Regions from separate parts of the Homo sapiens genome. Here region 2 is linked to region 1. The links are contacts of gene promoters, found by promoter capture Hi-C in blood cells and fetal thymus (Javierre and others, 2016). All regions are on one chromosome and are shown on one strand. Each heading gives the region's core, a stretch centred on a gene start or on the middle of the fragment in contact. The rest is flanking DNA. Distances are from core to core; before and after follow the strand shown.

The links. The method cuts DNA at HindIII sites, captures the fragments that hold promoters and counts their contacts. A CHiCAGO score of 5 or more calls a contact.
Region 2: a contact is called between the fragment with the promoter of GTSE1 here and the fragment with the promoter of CELSR1 in region 1, in 4 of 17 cell types (M0 macrophages, M1 macrophages, erythroblasts and 1 more). The highest score is 12.3, in M0 macrophages.

What each region holds. Positions count from the first base shown.
Region 1 is chr22:46,534,924-46,542,026 of GRCh38, forward strand. CELSR1 (cadherin EGF LAG seven-pass G-type receptor 1) reads right to left here and starts at 2,697. Exons shown (of 35, transcript NM_001378328.1): 1 at 1-2,697. The coding sequence starts at 2,247. It overlaps LINC02925 (long intergenic non-protein coding RNA 2925), which reads left to right and starts at 6,572. Exons shown (of 2, transcript NR_186692.1): 1 at 6,572-7,103. The HindIII fragment of the contact is 22,329 bases long and covers 1-7,103 here.
Region 2 is chr22:46,293,768-46,300,870 of GRCh38, forward strand. GTSE1 (G2 and S-phase expressed 1) reads left to right here and starts at 3,103. Exons shown (of 12, transcript NM_016426.7): 1 at 3,103-3,164; 2 at 3,613-3,712. The coding sequence starts at 3,634. GTSE1-DT (GTSE1 divergent transcript) reads right to left here and starts at 2,893. Exons shown (of 1, transcript NR_024009.1): 1 at 1,376-2,893. TTC38 (tetratricopeptide repeat domain 38) reads left to right here. Exons shown (of 14, transcript NM_017931.4): 14 at 1-241. RefSeq lists a silencer at 3,161-3,360 and an enhancer at 3,511-3,620. The HindIII fragment of the contact is 11,600 bases long and covers 1,465-7,103 here.

The DNA of each region.
Region 1 (7,103 bases), core at 1,447-3,946:
AGGTAGCGCCAGGGTGATGAGGCCGCCCCCTCTCTGGCTGCTGAGTGCAAAGCGGTTCCGGGTGTTGCCGCCTGTGAGCTGGTAGGTAATCACACTGTTGGCGTCACGGTCGCGGGCCTGCAGGGTCAGCACGCTGCTCCCCACGGCCGCATCCTCATTCAGACGAAGCTCGTAGGTGGGCTGCGTGAACACCGGGTCGTTGTCATTCACGTCCAGCACCGTGATGGACACGCTGGTGGAGGAGCTCATGGGGGGCGAGCCGTGGTCCACCGCCTCCACCCCGAAGCTGTAGTGCTCCACCTCCTCGCGGTCCAGCTCGGCACACACTGTGATCCAACCGGAGCTGTTGTGGATCTGGAAGGGGAAGTCAGGGGTGGGGGCAGGATTCTTAGGCCCAGCGCTGCCGCCCCCCAGAAAGGTGGAGGCCGTGTCCACCAGGCGATAGTGCAGCCGGGCGTTCTCTCCAGAGTCCGCGTCCACCGCCTGAATGTGCACCACGGGGTAGCCCAGGGGCACATTCTCCAGCACCGTGGCCTGGAAGGGGCTGCTCACAAAGATAGGCTCGTTGTCGTTGACATCCAGCACCTGCACAGACACCACCCCTGAAGAATTGATGAGCGGGGGCCGGCCCCCATCCTGGGCCTTAATGCTCAGCGAGTATTTCTGGACATCCTCGAAATCCAAGGGGTTGATCACATCCAGGATCCCGCTCAGCGAGTGCAGGTAGAACTGGCCGGCCACGTTCCCGCTGAGGATGCTGTAGTGAATGGCCGCGTTCTGGCCCTGGTCCCGGTCCGTGGCCTGCACTCGCAGCACAGCCGTGTTGAGCCCCACGTCCTCGGGCACCTGGACCACGTAGTTCTGCTCGCTGAACTGGGGGTAGTTGTCGTTCTCGTCCTCCACCTCGATGTACACGGTGGCCGTGGCACTGAGCGGGCCCGGATTGCGCCCCTGGTCGTTGGCCTCCACCAGGAGCTGGTACTCGGCCGCCTCCTCCCGGTCCAGCACCGCCCGTGTGCTCACCACGCCAGAGCTCTCGTTGAGCTGGAAGACGTCCCACGCGCCCCCCAACACGCGGTAACGCAAGTTGGCGTTGATGGGCGAGTCGCGGTCGCTGGCGCGGATGGTCAGCACCTCGTAGCCCACCTCCAGGTTCTCCCGCACGCGCTCGCGGTACTCCGACTGCTCGAAGACCGGGCTGTGGTCGTTGGTGTCTTTGACCAAGACAGTGATGTAGGTGGTGGCCGAGCGCGGCGGCGTACTGTAGTCCACGGCTTTCACCCTGAGGACGTGCGTCTCCTTGGTCTCGCGGTCCAGTACGCTGTCCGTGCTCACGGCGCCCGTGGCAGAGTCGATTCGGAAGTAGCCCCGGGAGCGCTCGTCGAACAGCCCCTCCATGTAATAGCTCACGCGCTCCTCCTCGCCCTCGATGGTGTAGTGCGCGTGCAGCTGGAGGATGAGGGTGCCCGCCGGTTCGTTCTCAAACAACGCCACCTGGTAGTTGGGCATCGGAAACTTCAGGCTCCCTCTGCCGCTCGTGCCCCGCCGGGCCCGTCGCGCCGGCCCCGCCCGGGCTTCGGGCAAGTTCGGCGGCAGGGGCGGCGATGGGGATGGCGACGCGGAGGGCGTCCCCGCGGTGGCGGCCTCCAGCGCCAGTCCCACCCGGACGGCGCCAGCCGCGCGCCGCAGGGCGCACAGCAGACGCAGGCGGACCGAGCCGCCCGGCGGCAGGCAGATGGGACGGCCGGGACAGCGGGGCCTGGGGCGCGGCGGGCAGCGGCAGGCGGGTAAGGTGGTCGGAGCTGCGAGCGCCGAATGCTGCGCGGCCGCGCAGCCGCCGGGGACGGGGAAGCAGAGCGCCCCGCAGAGCCGGGCACCGGTTCCGCAGAGCCGGGCACGGGCTCCGCAGCCGGGAAGGTGCGTGCGCGCCCGCAGGCGGCGGCTCAGCGCCGTCGGGGCACTGCGGGCCACCAAGCGGACTTGCAGCGGCAGCGGGCGCCCCGCGCCCGAGACGCGCCGACGTCCTGCCAGCCGCCCATCGCGGCCCACGTCCAGCAGCTCCCGCGGCGCCCGGGGCGTGCAAGCGGCGCCCACCGCGTAGGTACAGCCGGGCCGGAGGGCGAAGGCGCGGGTCCCGCCGGGTACGCGCGGCTCCCAGGCGGCCGCTCGCAGCCCCATCGCCGGCAGGGCGGCGGCGGCGGCCAGGAGCAGCAGCACGGGCAGCACGGGCGGCGGCGGCGGCGCCATGGCCCGGAGCCCGAGCCCGAGCCGGGCGCCCGAACACAATCCATGCACCCGGCGCGCCTCCGCATCCACCCGGCGAGGCCGGGGAGCGGCTCCCGGGCGCCCGGCCCTCGGGGCGGTCCGCGTCCCGCCTCCCCGGGGGCCCTGGCGGGGACTGTGGGGACCACGCGCCCGGCCTCCCCCGCAGCTTCCACTTCGAGAGCACTTTGCGAAAGTTTGCGAAGTTGGTTTCAAGATGGCTCCTCCGCGCGTCCCGGGAGGGCGCCGCGCATCAACCTGCGGCGGCGGCGGCGGCTCCAGGCGGCTCCAGGTGGCTCCGGCGCGGGCTCGGCCGGACGGGCGTGGGAAGCGGGGCGGGCCCGGCGCGGGGCGGGGGCTGAGTTCCCGGAGCGGGCTGGGCAGCTCCGCGCCGCGCAGACCCCGGCGGCCGGCTGCTGCCTGGGCGGTGCGCTTGGCCCGCGCCCACTCCGCCCGCGCTCTCCCCGCCCCCGGCCCGGCCCCGCCCCGCCCCCGGCCCAGCGGCGTATTGTTCGGCCCCGGGGGGAGCCGGCTCGGAGGTGCGCGCCGAGAGGATCGCTATGGAGACGCGAGGGCGCGGCCGGGACGGGGACTGGGGCCCTACTCCCCGGAGGCCTCCCCACCCAGCCTCCCGGTGGGGCGGGGCCGAGGCAACAGGGCCGGGAAAGGTGGGGCTGGGGCCCCCGGTGGCCGCTACCCGTGGGGCGGTGGCTCCGCACCTCGGGCTCGGGGCCGCGGCTCAGAGCCTGGCTCCCCACCCCGGCAGAACAGATCCACGGAGACCGCCGCCAGGAGTGCCGCGCGGGTAGGACCCGGGGGCGGAGGACTGGGGCCGAGAGGCCGGGGAGCCCCCCCCCACCCATTAAGGACTGCGGAGGCTGTCGAGGAGGGTTACCCATTTTACAGCAAGACGCACGGAGGCTAAAATGCTTCACCCCGACTAAAACTCCCTGGACTTTGAAGCCCAATAGGCAGCTACCGGATCTGCGTCCCACTTGGTTTAAAGCGCAACTTTTAAATGAAAGAAGAAAACCCCGGTTGACATAAGGGATTTGGAGAGGACGGCGGAGGCGCGCTCATCTCCCGCGTGCGGCCCGACCCGAGCGTTCGCGGACGCATCGCGGAATCCCCGAGCGTCCGGCTCCTCCCGAAGCGGGTTGCGGGGAAGGCGGGGGGCTGCGGGTCCTGGAAGCTGCCTGGGGCAAGCAAGCACCCGCAGGGATTTAGAGCTGTGCCACAGCCCCTGCCCAGCCTCCTACGGAGGACAGCGGGGGGCGGGGGGCAGAGACCTTAGAGCTTTCAGAAAAGTGACACACACCCCCGCCTCCTGCGGGGAACCACGGGGGGCCGGGGGCAGCTTTAGGTTTGCGTGACGGGTACACCTGCCTCCGGATGGGGCACAGGGATAAAGGGGGTGGAGGCTTAGGACTTGGCGACCCCCCGCATGGGCGGGGCTTTGGGACTGTGCCACCAGCGGCTGGGAAGGGCGCGCACTCCCTTGGTGGCGCTCGGGGCGCCGGAGTCCAGTGCAGCCCTTAGGCCTCCCAGTGGTCGGGGACGGTAGGTGGGGGTCGCCTCTTCTCTCCTAGAAGGGCTTCTCCTGGGGCCGGTCGGAGCGGTGGGGGTGGGAGTAATGCGCAGTCACCCCTAGAACGGGTCTTTTTGGCAAGGGAGGGTCGGATCCTGCAGCCAAATCTCTGAGCTGAGCTGAGATGAGTCCAGTCTCAACGAGGACCGTGGGCGGCTGTGGAGAACCGGAAGGGTTTCTCCCCCGGAGCGATGTGTCTGTGTGTGTGTCACACGCATACTCAGCCAACTTCGCTCAAAGCTGCTGAAACAGTGTCTTTGTGCTGAAGCCCAATGTGAGCATTTTCTTCCCAGTAGCAAGGATTTGAACACGTTATATTGATCTAAAAGGTGGAGTTGCTTTGGAACCTTTTAATTCGAGGTTTCCACTGGAGAGTCCTGTTGGGAAATGTGTGTGTGGAGGGAGGGGAGGAAGGAGAAAAGTCCGTCTCCTTAATGTGAGCGGTCCAGGACCTCCCCACCCGCCATATACCCTTCCACTGGGATTTTTCCGGGAAGGATGAAAGGACAGGAGTTCTGGGGCCGGAAGGCAGGGCGGGTCCCTGAGCCCGGAGCCTCCCAGTGGAAGGCTACTGGGCGGACCTGAAGGGGACCCAGGCAGGAGGAAAAACCAGAGAACCCCAGGAGTGCCTGTTTTGCAATAAGGCTTTAAGCAGAGTGGGTTGGGTTTAAATAAACAAAACTCAGCTGCAGCCAGTGGGTTCAGGTGTGGGCCTGCTTTTCTGGAATAAGGCACCTGCAGGCTGCGAGGTAACCACAGGGACTGCCCAACACCTAGGGACAGGGGAGGATGGATGAATCTCACTAACAGGATGTCCAGCAAAGACAAAAGATCATTCCATTCACGCTTAGACCGACAGCAAGCCCGACTCCACCATAACGTTTAGAGGTGTGCACAAATAGGGGAAAGATGAAGAAAAACAAGGAGGTGATTATGGGCACATTCAGGAGGGCTCTGGGGGAGGAGGGGCATCCCCTTCTGGACCTGAGGGTTACCAGAGTGTCGGCTTCATGATCACACTTTGAACTCCAAACACATGATTTGCGTACTTTTCCCTATGCCTGCATCTAGAGTCGGCAGTTTTTGTTTTTTTTTGTTTTGTTTTGTTTTGTTTTGTTTTGTTTTTTTGAGACAGAGTTTCACTGTTGTTGCCCAGGCTGGAGTGCAATGGCACGATCTCAGCTTACCACAACCTCCGCCTTCCAGGTTCAAGCAATTCTGCCTCAGCCTCCCTAGTAGCTGGGATTACAGGCGTGCGCCTCACGCCCGGCTAATTTTGTATTTTCAGTAGAGACGGGGTTTCTCCATGTTGGTCAGGCTGGTCTCGAACTCCCAACCTCGTGATCCGCCCACCTCGGCCTCCCAAAGTGCTGGGATTACAGGCATGAGCCACCGTGCCTGGCCTATTTTTATTTATTGCTAAATAGAGATGGGGTCTTGCTATGTTGCCTAGGTTGATCTCAAACTTCTGGGCTCAAGAGATCCTCCCACTTCAGCCTCTCAAAGTGCTAGGATTACAGGTATGAGCCACCACACCCTATTTAGAGTCCACAGTTTTATTTTATTTTACTTTATTTATTTTTGAGACGGAGTTTTGCTCTCTCACCTAGGCTGGAGGACAGTGGCGCGATCTCAGCTCAATGCAACCTCCACCTCCTGGGTTCAAGCAATTCTCCTGCCTCAGCCTCCAGAGTAGCTGGGATTATAGGCACACACCACCAGTCCTGACTAATGTGTGTATGTTTAGTAGAGACGGTTTCGCCATGTTGACCAGGCTGGTCTGGAACTCCTGACCTCAGGTGATCCACCCACCTCAGCCTCCCAAAGTGCTGGGATTACAGGCATGAGCCACCGCGCCGGGCCTAGAATCCACAATTTTAAGTAAGTGGGGAGGGGAGAGGGACTAACAAGACGGAGGCCGCAGCTTGTGCTGAGACGGCCAGGTGGTCCGGCCGCATCAGAAATCACGAGTTTGGAATGACTGGCACCTTCGAGGGGTTGAGCTTTAATTCTGCCACTAACTAGTTGTGTGACCTTCGCCAAGGCCTAACTCCTTGTTCTAACTGGACACAATAGTCCTAGACTCCTAGCGTTGTTGAAGGATTAACAAGACAATCTGTGTGAAGCGGTCGGCACAGGGTCTGGCTCAGGCATGGATCTGCCAGTAATAGCATTTACTATTTTCACAGTTGCTGTTTCCTAGCATGAGTTCAAGGCTGCCTCCTCTCTGTCTTCATTATGTGAATTGAATGTGGTCACACATCTGTGTTGGAGCAGAGGCAGGGGCTGCAGCTTTCAGCTGATTTCCCAAGGGGTCTGTACTTGGACACTGATCCAGTCCACCCAATGTGTTTCCAGAAAGTGGAGCTGATTCCTGGAGAGCAGAAGGGATATATGTGGGGCTTTTTGTAAAGGGCAGTGACCTATGTGGTGGGCTTGTCCACTGCCCGAGTCTGCGGCTCCCACAGGTCACTGCCCGGCTCATATCCTTCCCCTTTGGAATTGGCTTGGAGCAGGGTCTCTCCTCCCCGGCCCCTATGTGCCCACCATCTCTGGGGTCAGTGGCCCACTCATGACTCTCAGGGCGGGGAGGGGGCTTGGAGTTCAGTAACAGCACCCTGGGTCATTCTTGCACCTGTCACCCTGAGAGCCACTGACCAGTTTTCTGTGCCTAGAATCGCTGCTTGCGGCCTTTCTCAGGGGCTCAATGGATTGTAATTGATGTTTGTATTTTGCACTTGCCCGGAGGTGTTTCACGGGAAGTGAGCATTTTTTAAAACAAAAATAGAATTTAGAAAAAAAAAAGGCAGACACGATGGATTTCTAGTGTTGTACGTGCTGTAGAAAGCACTTGAAAATGCGTTTTGCCAGGGGCCGCAACCAGAAGCTACATGACTTCTGGAATCTGTTCCTTACACAGTAAATTCCTGGGCCAGTTGGTAAACAGCAAGGAGCCACAAGAAATCACTCATAGGCAAAAGCCGAGTGAGCCCAGGCCAAGCTCCACTTTGTCCACTTTGCCCTATTTTTGGAATTCAGGGGGAAACATCTTGGGAGCAGGCCCATTGCACCCCTCTGCCTCCTCTCGATGCCTTACAGTTGGTGGGGTTTGACACATGGAAAATTGTGAAAGTTAGAACACGGAACAAAAATGAAGCCTCAACATAGAGTTAATAGAGGCAAGGGGCTACAGAGAATTTAGATCCTAATCAAGCACGTCTTATGTACTAGCGCTTCCCTGGAAGGCCAGGAT
Region 2 (7,103 bases), core at 1,853-4,352, 240 kb before region 1:
ACGCCTGCTGAATGTGCCGCTGACTCAGCTGTGCTGCTTTCAGCCCTCCTGTGAGGGGCGGTCCCAGTGCACAGATGTTTTTCAAGTTCCTCAGTTTGTACTGAAATTAGGGATTCATCAGGGCAGGAAGCAGGCAGGCCTCTCAGAAGGGAGAGGAGGCCTCCAAATCTATTGAGTCCCCACAGTTTGCTCAAGCCCAGGCAAATTTCTGTGATTAAAATGAATTCATCAGTTCCTCCAAGTCTTTGAGCATCTGTGGTGCAGGCCTGGGGCTGGGTCCTGGGGAGATGGCTTCTCCTTGAACTTAAGGTAGGTGGGGCAGGCCAGGCGCAGTGGCTCACGCCTGTAATCCCACCACTTTGGGAGGCTGAGGTGGGTGGATCCCCTGATGTCAGGAGTTCGAGATCAGCCTGGCCAACATGGTGAAACCCTGTGTCTACTGAAAATACAAAAATTAGCTGAGCATGGTGGCACACGTCTGTAATCCCAGCTACTCGGGAGGCTGAGGCAGGAGAATCACTTGAACCTGGGAGGCAGTGATTGCAGTGAGCCAAGATCGTGCCATTGCACTGCAGTCTGGGCAACAGAGCGAGACTCCCATCTCAAGGGAAAAAAAAAAAAAAGTAGGTGGGGCATCTAGTCAAGAAAATGGGAGGTCGGGCGCAGTGGCTCACGTCTGTAATCCCAGCACTTTGGGAGGCTGAGGCAGGTAGATCACGAGGTCAGGAGATCAAGACCATCCTGGCTAACACGGTGAAACCCCATCTCTATTAAAAATACAAAAAATTAGCCGGGCATGGTGGTGGGCGCCTGTAGTCCCAGCTACTCGGGAGGCTGAGGCAGGAGAATGGCGTGAACCCGGGAGGCAGAGCTTGCAGTGAGCGGAGATCGCGCCACTGCACTCCAGCCTGGGCGACAAAGCAAGACTCCGTCTCAAAAAAAAAAAAAAAGAAAGAAAGAAAAGGGGTAATTATAGTAGTATTTCCAGAGAGGCGCCTTCTCTACCCAAGAACTAGGGACACATCCTAAGGGGAGCCTCCTTCCCCTCTCCTGGTTCCAAGCAAGAAGACATGACTTGGCTGTGCAATTGGGAACCCTGGTCCCTCCTCCAGGAAGCCTTCTACCCGCCAACCCCCACTGCAGGCTGGTGAGGGTGCTGCCTCTGTGCCCCTCAGCCCTTGGCACTTGCCCTTGCTCTTGCACCCCTGCCATGACCTCTCCAGGTCAGGGACAGCATCTGTCCCCAGCATCACCTGGCACATGGCCTGCACTGAGTAGCTGTCAGTGAAAGTTGGTGAATGAAGGCATAAATAAATGAAGTCAAACTCTGTATTAGGCCTTCTTGCATTGCTATGAAGAAATACCTGACGCTAGGTAATTTATAAAGAGGTTTAATTGGCTCACAGTTCTGCAGGCTTTTCAGGAAGTATGGTGCTGGCATCTGCTTCTGGTGCAACCTCAGGAAGCTTAAGATCATGACATAAGGTGATGGGGAGCCAGTATATCACATAGTGAGAGCAGGAGTAAGAGAGAAGGGGAGGTCTTAGACTCTTAAATAACCAGATCTTGTGTGAACTAAGCAAGAACTCATCACCAAGGGGATGGTGCTGAACCATTCATAAGGGATCTGCCCTCACGACCCAATTACTTCCCACCAGGCCCCACTTCCAACATTGGGATCACATTTCAACATGAGATTTTGAGGGGACACACATCCAAACTACAGCAAATCCTATTGGGGGCAGAAATGAATCTGCCATACATAGGCCACACCTACTATGTGCTGACATGATACAGGGAGAGGAGTATCAGGAATGACTGTTGGGGATCCCTCTGCCATTCTCCCATGAGCAGACATCCCCAGGATGAGCTGAGGGGAATGCAATGAGCAGGCCAAACTCTTTCCAAGCTGTTTGACCACACCCACCTACCCCAGCACTCTCAGCCCCTGCCTGGTGCCCTGTGCTGAGCTGGGTGAGGCTGGGGAGACTGGTGAGTGAGGGCTGCCCTGCCCTTTTTGAGCCCCCAGTCTTCTGGTGAAGGAACATAGCAACATGGAGTGATTGGTATGGATGATGCAAAACCAGGGACATGGGACCCAGAAGTGCCCGAGCCAGCCTGGAAGGCCTCTGCCCTGGGCCCCGGGTGGCTGTTTGCTGCACAGCTCTCCCCACAGCCTGCCCCAAATAAACAGCTTATCTTCGTCCCTGAAAATGGTGCTCTCGAGTTCCATCCTTTTCAGAGCGGGTCCTCCCAGACTCCTCTTCCTGCATCCTCCTCCATCCCGCTTAGTGACACTTTGCCGTGGGTGGAGCCCCTCATTTGATCCTCAAGCCCCCGAGGTGGGTATTATACCTCGTTCGCAGGCAAAGGCTCAAGCGAGGTCAGTCTTAAGTTGCTGCCCACTGACCCGTCTACCAGTCCTGTCCTTGCGTCTCCATGGCTCAGGTCAGGGTTATCCTATCTGCTTCCCACCTCTCTCCAACACATGCACTCCCCAAGGCAGGCTCCATCACCGGGCCCCAGCCCCTGGCTCTCTCCTCCAACGCAGCTCCCCAGCCGGCCTGTAAAACCGAGGACAGGCTCCCGCCACGCCCTCGGCGGTCCTCAGGCCTTGGCGGTTGGGGAAGCCCGCCAAGGGCGACGGTTCCCCTCCAGCCCCACAGGCTGTGCAGCTCCGGCAATGAGTCTCCCTCAGGTCTCTGGGTCAGCCGGCGCCCCAGTGCGTGCCTCGGGGGCAGGGATCCCGGCTTTTCACTACTGTTAGTAACAGCTCGCGCGCGCTGCTTCACAGCAGGTGGGTGAGCCTACTTTTAGTCTTCCCATCGACACCCTTAGATGGCAGTTTTAACTTTCTCCCTACACACAAGGAGCTGCTATACATGGTTCCGGCTTGACGCGGATACCTAGTGACACTTGGCGGCCAGGCCGGGCAGACTTCCGGGTGGGTGATCCCTGGCGCTGTGCGGAGCCATTCGCTGCGCTGAAGCAGTGCGCATGCGCACTGGACGCTTCTTACCAGCGTCCTGACTACAATACCCAGGACGCACCCAGCCCGCCGCCTCTCGGAGCCCTTTTCAAACCGACCAATCGGCAACCCGCGTCTCCCGGCGCCGCGTTTAAATCCGTGCCGGAGGCGCGTCCTGCATCGTCTGCCGCTTTGGGTAAGGTGGGGTCAGGGTCGGGGGCGAGGCTTGCCCGGTGGGCCCGGTGCGGCGCGGTGCCCGCCGTTTTCGGGACGGGGAGGGGCCGCGCCCCGCCAGGAGCCGGGCCTGGGCTCGAGCAGGGGTCACTGAGGCCCCTCGCGCCGTGGTCGGGGATGCCGGGAGGTCTAGGGCTGCCCCCCAGGCAAACAGAGCCCCCAACACTCTGGCCCAGAAGCCGAGAATTCCGTTATCTCGTCTGATGGCGTTCGGGCTGACTCCCGGCCTGGCGGCACTCGGGCCCTGGGGTCCCCTGGGATGCGATCATTTCAGAGCGGCCCCCGCGCCGCCTCTCCCAGACCTGGCCGCGGCCTTCAGCTCTCTCTGCCTCTGTGAGCCGAGGGCTGAAGGAAGCCGGAGCCCTGGGCCCTGACACGTACTCACTTTCTGGCCCCGTTCCACCCTGCAGTGACTTCTGACAGCTCTCTCCATGGAAGGAGGCGGCGGCCGCGATGAGCCTTCAGCCTGCCGGGCAGGGGACGTGAACATGGATGACCCTAAGAAGGAAGGCAAGTCCTTGCTGCTGCGGCGCTGTTGTTGTTCAGGATGTTCAGTAGAGATGGAGGGTGATTTAATGTTTCCCTGAGAAATTCTTTCTCAAGTGCTCGACTTGTACTCTGCACCTGTGAAACACATGACATCTGCCTTCGTTTTCTGGTTTTCTTTCACCTCCTCCCCATTTTAAGTTTCATCACAGCCAGGATTCTCATCCGTTTTATTTACCGCAGTGCTCCCATGCCCTGAACAGCACCTAACACTTTGTGGGCTCTCAAATATTTATTGTATTGAATTCGATGTTTTCTTTTTTGTTTGTCGCTGGTTTCTGTTTGCTAAGACTTATTTAGGATCTTTGAGACCATGTTAATGAGTAAGCCTGGCCCCAAACCCCTTTCTTCTTGTGTCTTTGACTGGTTTGGGTATCAAGGTGAGGGTACAGCTTCACAGAATGAGTTACAGGCCACACCCTCTTTTTCTCTCAAAGCGTTTTTATTTATTTATTTATTTATTTATTGACGGAGTCTCGCTCTCTCACCCAGGCTGGAGTGCAAAGGCGTGATCTGTACTCACTGCAACCTCTCTCTCCTGAGTTGAAGGGATTCTCCTGCCTCAGCCTCCCTAGTAACTGGGATTACAGGCACCCGCTGCCACACCTGGCTCATTTTTGTATTTTTAACAGAGACGGGGTTTTGCCATGTTGCCCAGGCTGGTCTCGAACTCCTGAGCTCAGGCAATCTGCCTGCCTCGGCCTCCCAAAGTGCTAGGATTATAGGTGTGAGCCACCTCACCCAGCCTCACAAAGCATTTTGACATCCCTTGGGTAGTTTTCTCACACTACCCAAGGATCCTTTCTTTTTGAGACCAAGTCTCACTCTGTCTCCCAGGCTGGAGTGCAGTGGCATGATCTTGGCTCACTGCAACCTCTGCCTTTCGGGTTCAAGCGATTCTCCTGCCTCAGCCTCCCGAGTAGCTGGGATTACAGGCACCCGCCACCACACCTGGCTGATTTTTGTATTTTTAGTAGAGATGGGGTTTTACCATGTTGGCCAGGCTGGTCTCAAACTCCTGACCTCAGGTGATCCACCTGCCTAGGCCTCCCAAAGTACTGGGATTACAGGTGTGAACCACCGCGCCTGGCCCCAAGCATCCTCAATGCCTCCATTTTGCAGGAACTGTCCTGGAGACTTTACAAATCAATGTTGCATCTTCATATCTAGCAAGGCGCTTGCCTCTGCACCCCTCTCCTCCTTCCTGTCATGTCCTTCCTTTCAAATATGTCCTTTCCACGTGCATACTGCACCCCCTGCTCCTTCTTGAGGCCTTCCCCACTTCCGTTGACCTGACTTCATTTCCTTACTTTTCCCCTGTCCACTACTGGATCATGCGCATCCACATACAGATAATGTTCCCTTGTCTCACTTGTCGCCACGTCTCCTCCGTTGCCTCTCCATTGCTGTGTTTCTCCTTCCAAGCCAAACTTTGAGAGCTTTCTCACTTGTTATGCCATTTTTTTCCGCCTCTCAATCCCTCCCATTCCGGCTTCTGTCCTTACCACTCCATTCAAGCTGCTTTCATCAGTCGTTGACGACTTCCACATTGCTGAATCTCTTTTCACTTTTCTATCGCCAGTCAGCTTTTCAGTAACATTCGTCCTTCTGGAAACTTCCCTTGCTTGGAGTCCAAGACGCTCTTGGTTTTTTCCTCCTGCCTCTCTGGCTGGTGTATCTTTTCTCTGTCGGGGGCTCCCCCTCTGCTGTCTTCTGAGGCTGATTTCCCCAAGACCTGCTCTGGGACCGCTTTGTGCTTTCGCCCTCAGGGCGGTCAGCATTCCAATAGCTGTGCAGCGTATCTGCTCTCTGCGGCACCCACGTTTTGTCTTGAGCGCAGCCTCTCCTCCGAGCTCTGGGCTTGTATATTCACCTGCCTATTTGGCGTCTTCACATGCACGTCTCATCTCAAACTTGGCATACCCCCTCTGCATCTGCATACCCTGTTCTTTTTGTCTTTCTCATCACCCATTTTATTTCTCCATTTCACCCAGCTGTGCAAGCTGAGAACCTCCTACATTCATGCCATCACCAGCTAACGTCTTCTCCACCTTCAGAAGATATCCTGAATCCATCTACAGACTCTCCATCTCCATCCACATGCTGCTGTCTGGGTCTCAGCCACGCTGTCTCACCGGCTTCTACTTCCCGTTGGCTAATATGTGCATTTGTAATGTCAGGGGATATTATCTGCTTCCTTTCGGATACACTTTCTACACAGTAACGTCACCTTTTAAAAACACAAGTTAGATTATAAAGCTCTTTTCTTTTCTTTTTTCTTTTTCTTTTTTTTTTTTGAGACAGAGTCTCACTGTTGGCCAGGCTGGAGTGCAGTGGCGTGATCTCGGCTTACTGCAACCTCCGCCTCTTGGGTTCAAGCAATTCTCCTGCCTCAGCCTCCTGAGTATCTGGGACTACAGGCGCCCGCCACCACGCCCAGCTAATTTTTTTTTTTTTTTTTTTTTTTTTAGTAGAGATGGGGTTTCACTGTGTTAGCCAGGATGGTCTCAATCTCCTGACCTCGTGATCTGCCCGCCTGGGCCTCCGGAAGTGCTGGGATTACAGGCATGAGCCACTGTGCTCAGCCTTTTTTTTCTTTTTGAGATGGAGTCTCGTTCTGTCACCAGGCTGGAGTGCAGTGGCGACATCTTGGCTCACTGCAACCTCCGTCTCCTGGGTTCAAGTGATTCCCCTGCCTCAGCCTCCTGAGTAGCTGGGATTAAAGGCATGAGCCACCGTGCCCAGCTAAGTTTTGTATTTTCAGTAGAGACGGGGTTTCACCATGTTGGTCAGGACGGTCTCGAACTCGACCTCAAGTGATCCGCCTGCCTCAGCCTACCACTGTGCTGGGATTACAGGCATGAGCTACCACGCCAGGCCTAAAATTCTTTTCTTAAAGCCCGGTAATAGTTTCCTATCCCACTTTGGAGAAAATAAAAGCTCCTTGCCATGGCTTGCAAACCCTCTGTGATCTGACCCAACTTGTGTTTTCACCTCTTCCAGCCACTCTGACTTCTGACCCGTTCCTCTCACACACGCTTTGATATTTTCTCAGAGGTGTTCCCACCTCTACATGTCTCTCACCGCACTGCCTGAGGCACCCTCCAGGGTGGGCTGCATGTACCCCAAGCCTGCCTGGCACCTAGCGAAGGATGTGGTCTGTTGTGGGTGCTCATGTGTTTGCAGGATGAGCAAGTCAGCCAGCCCGGGACCCCTCGGAGCCAGTCACAGAGCCTGGAGCAGAAGACTGCTTCCCTGAGTTCTGGTCCTGGATTCTTTTTCCACGCCAGACCATTAGAAGTTTCTGAAATTGACTTCCTAATTTAGAGGTGTAAAAAGTGAAATGTCTGCCTCT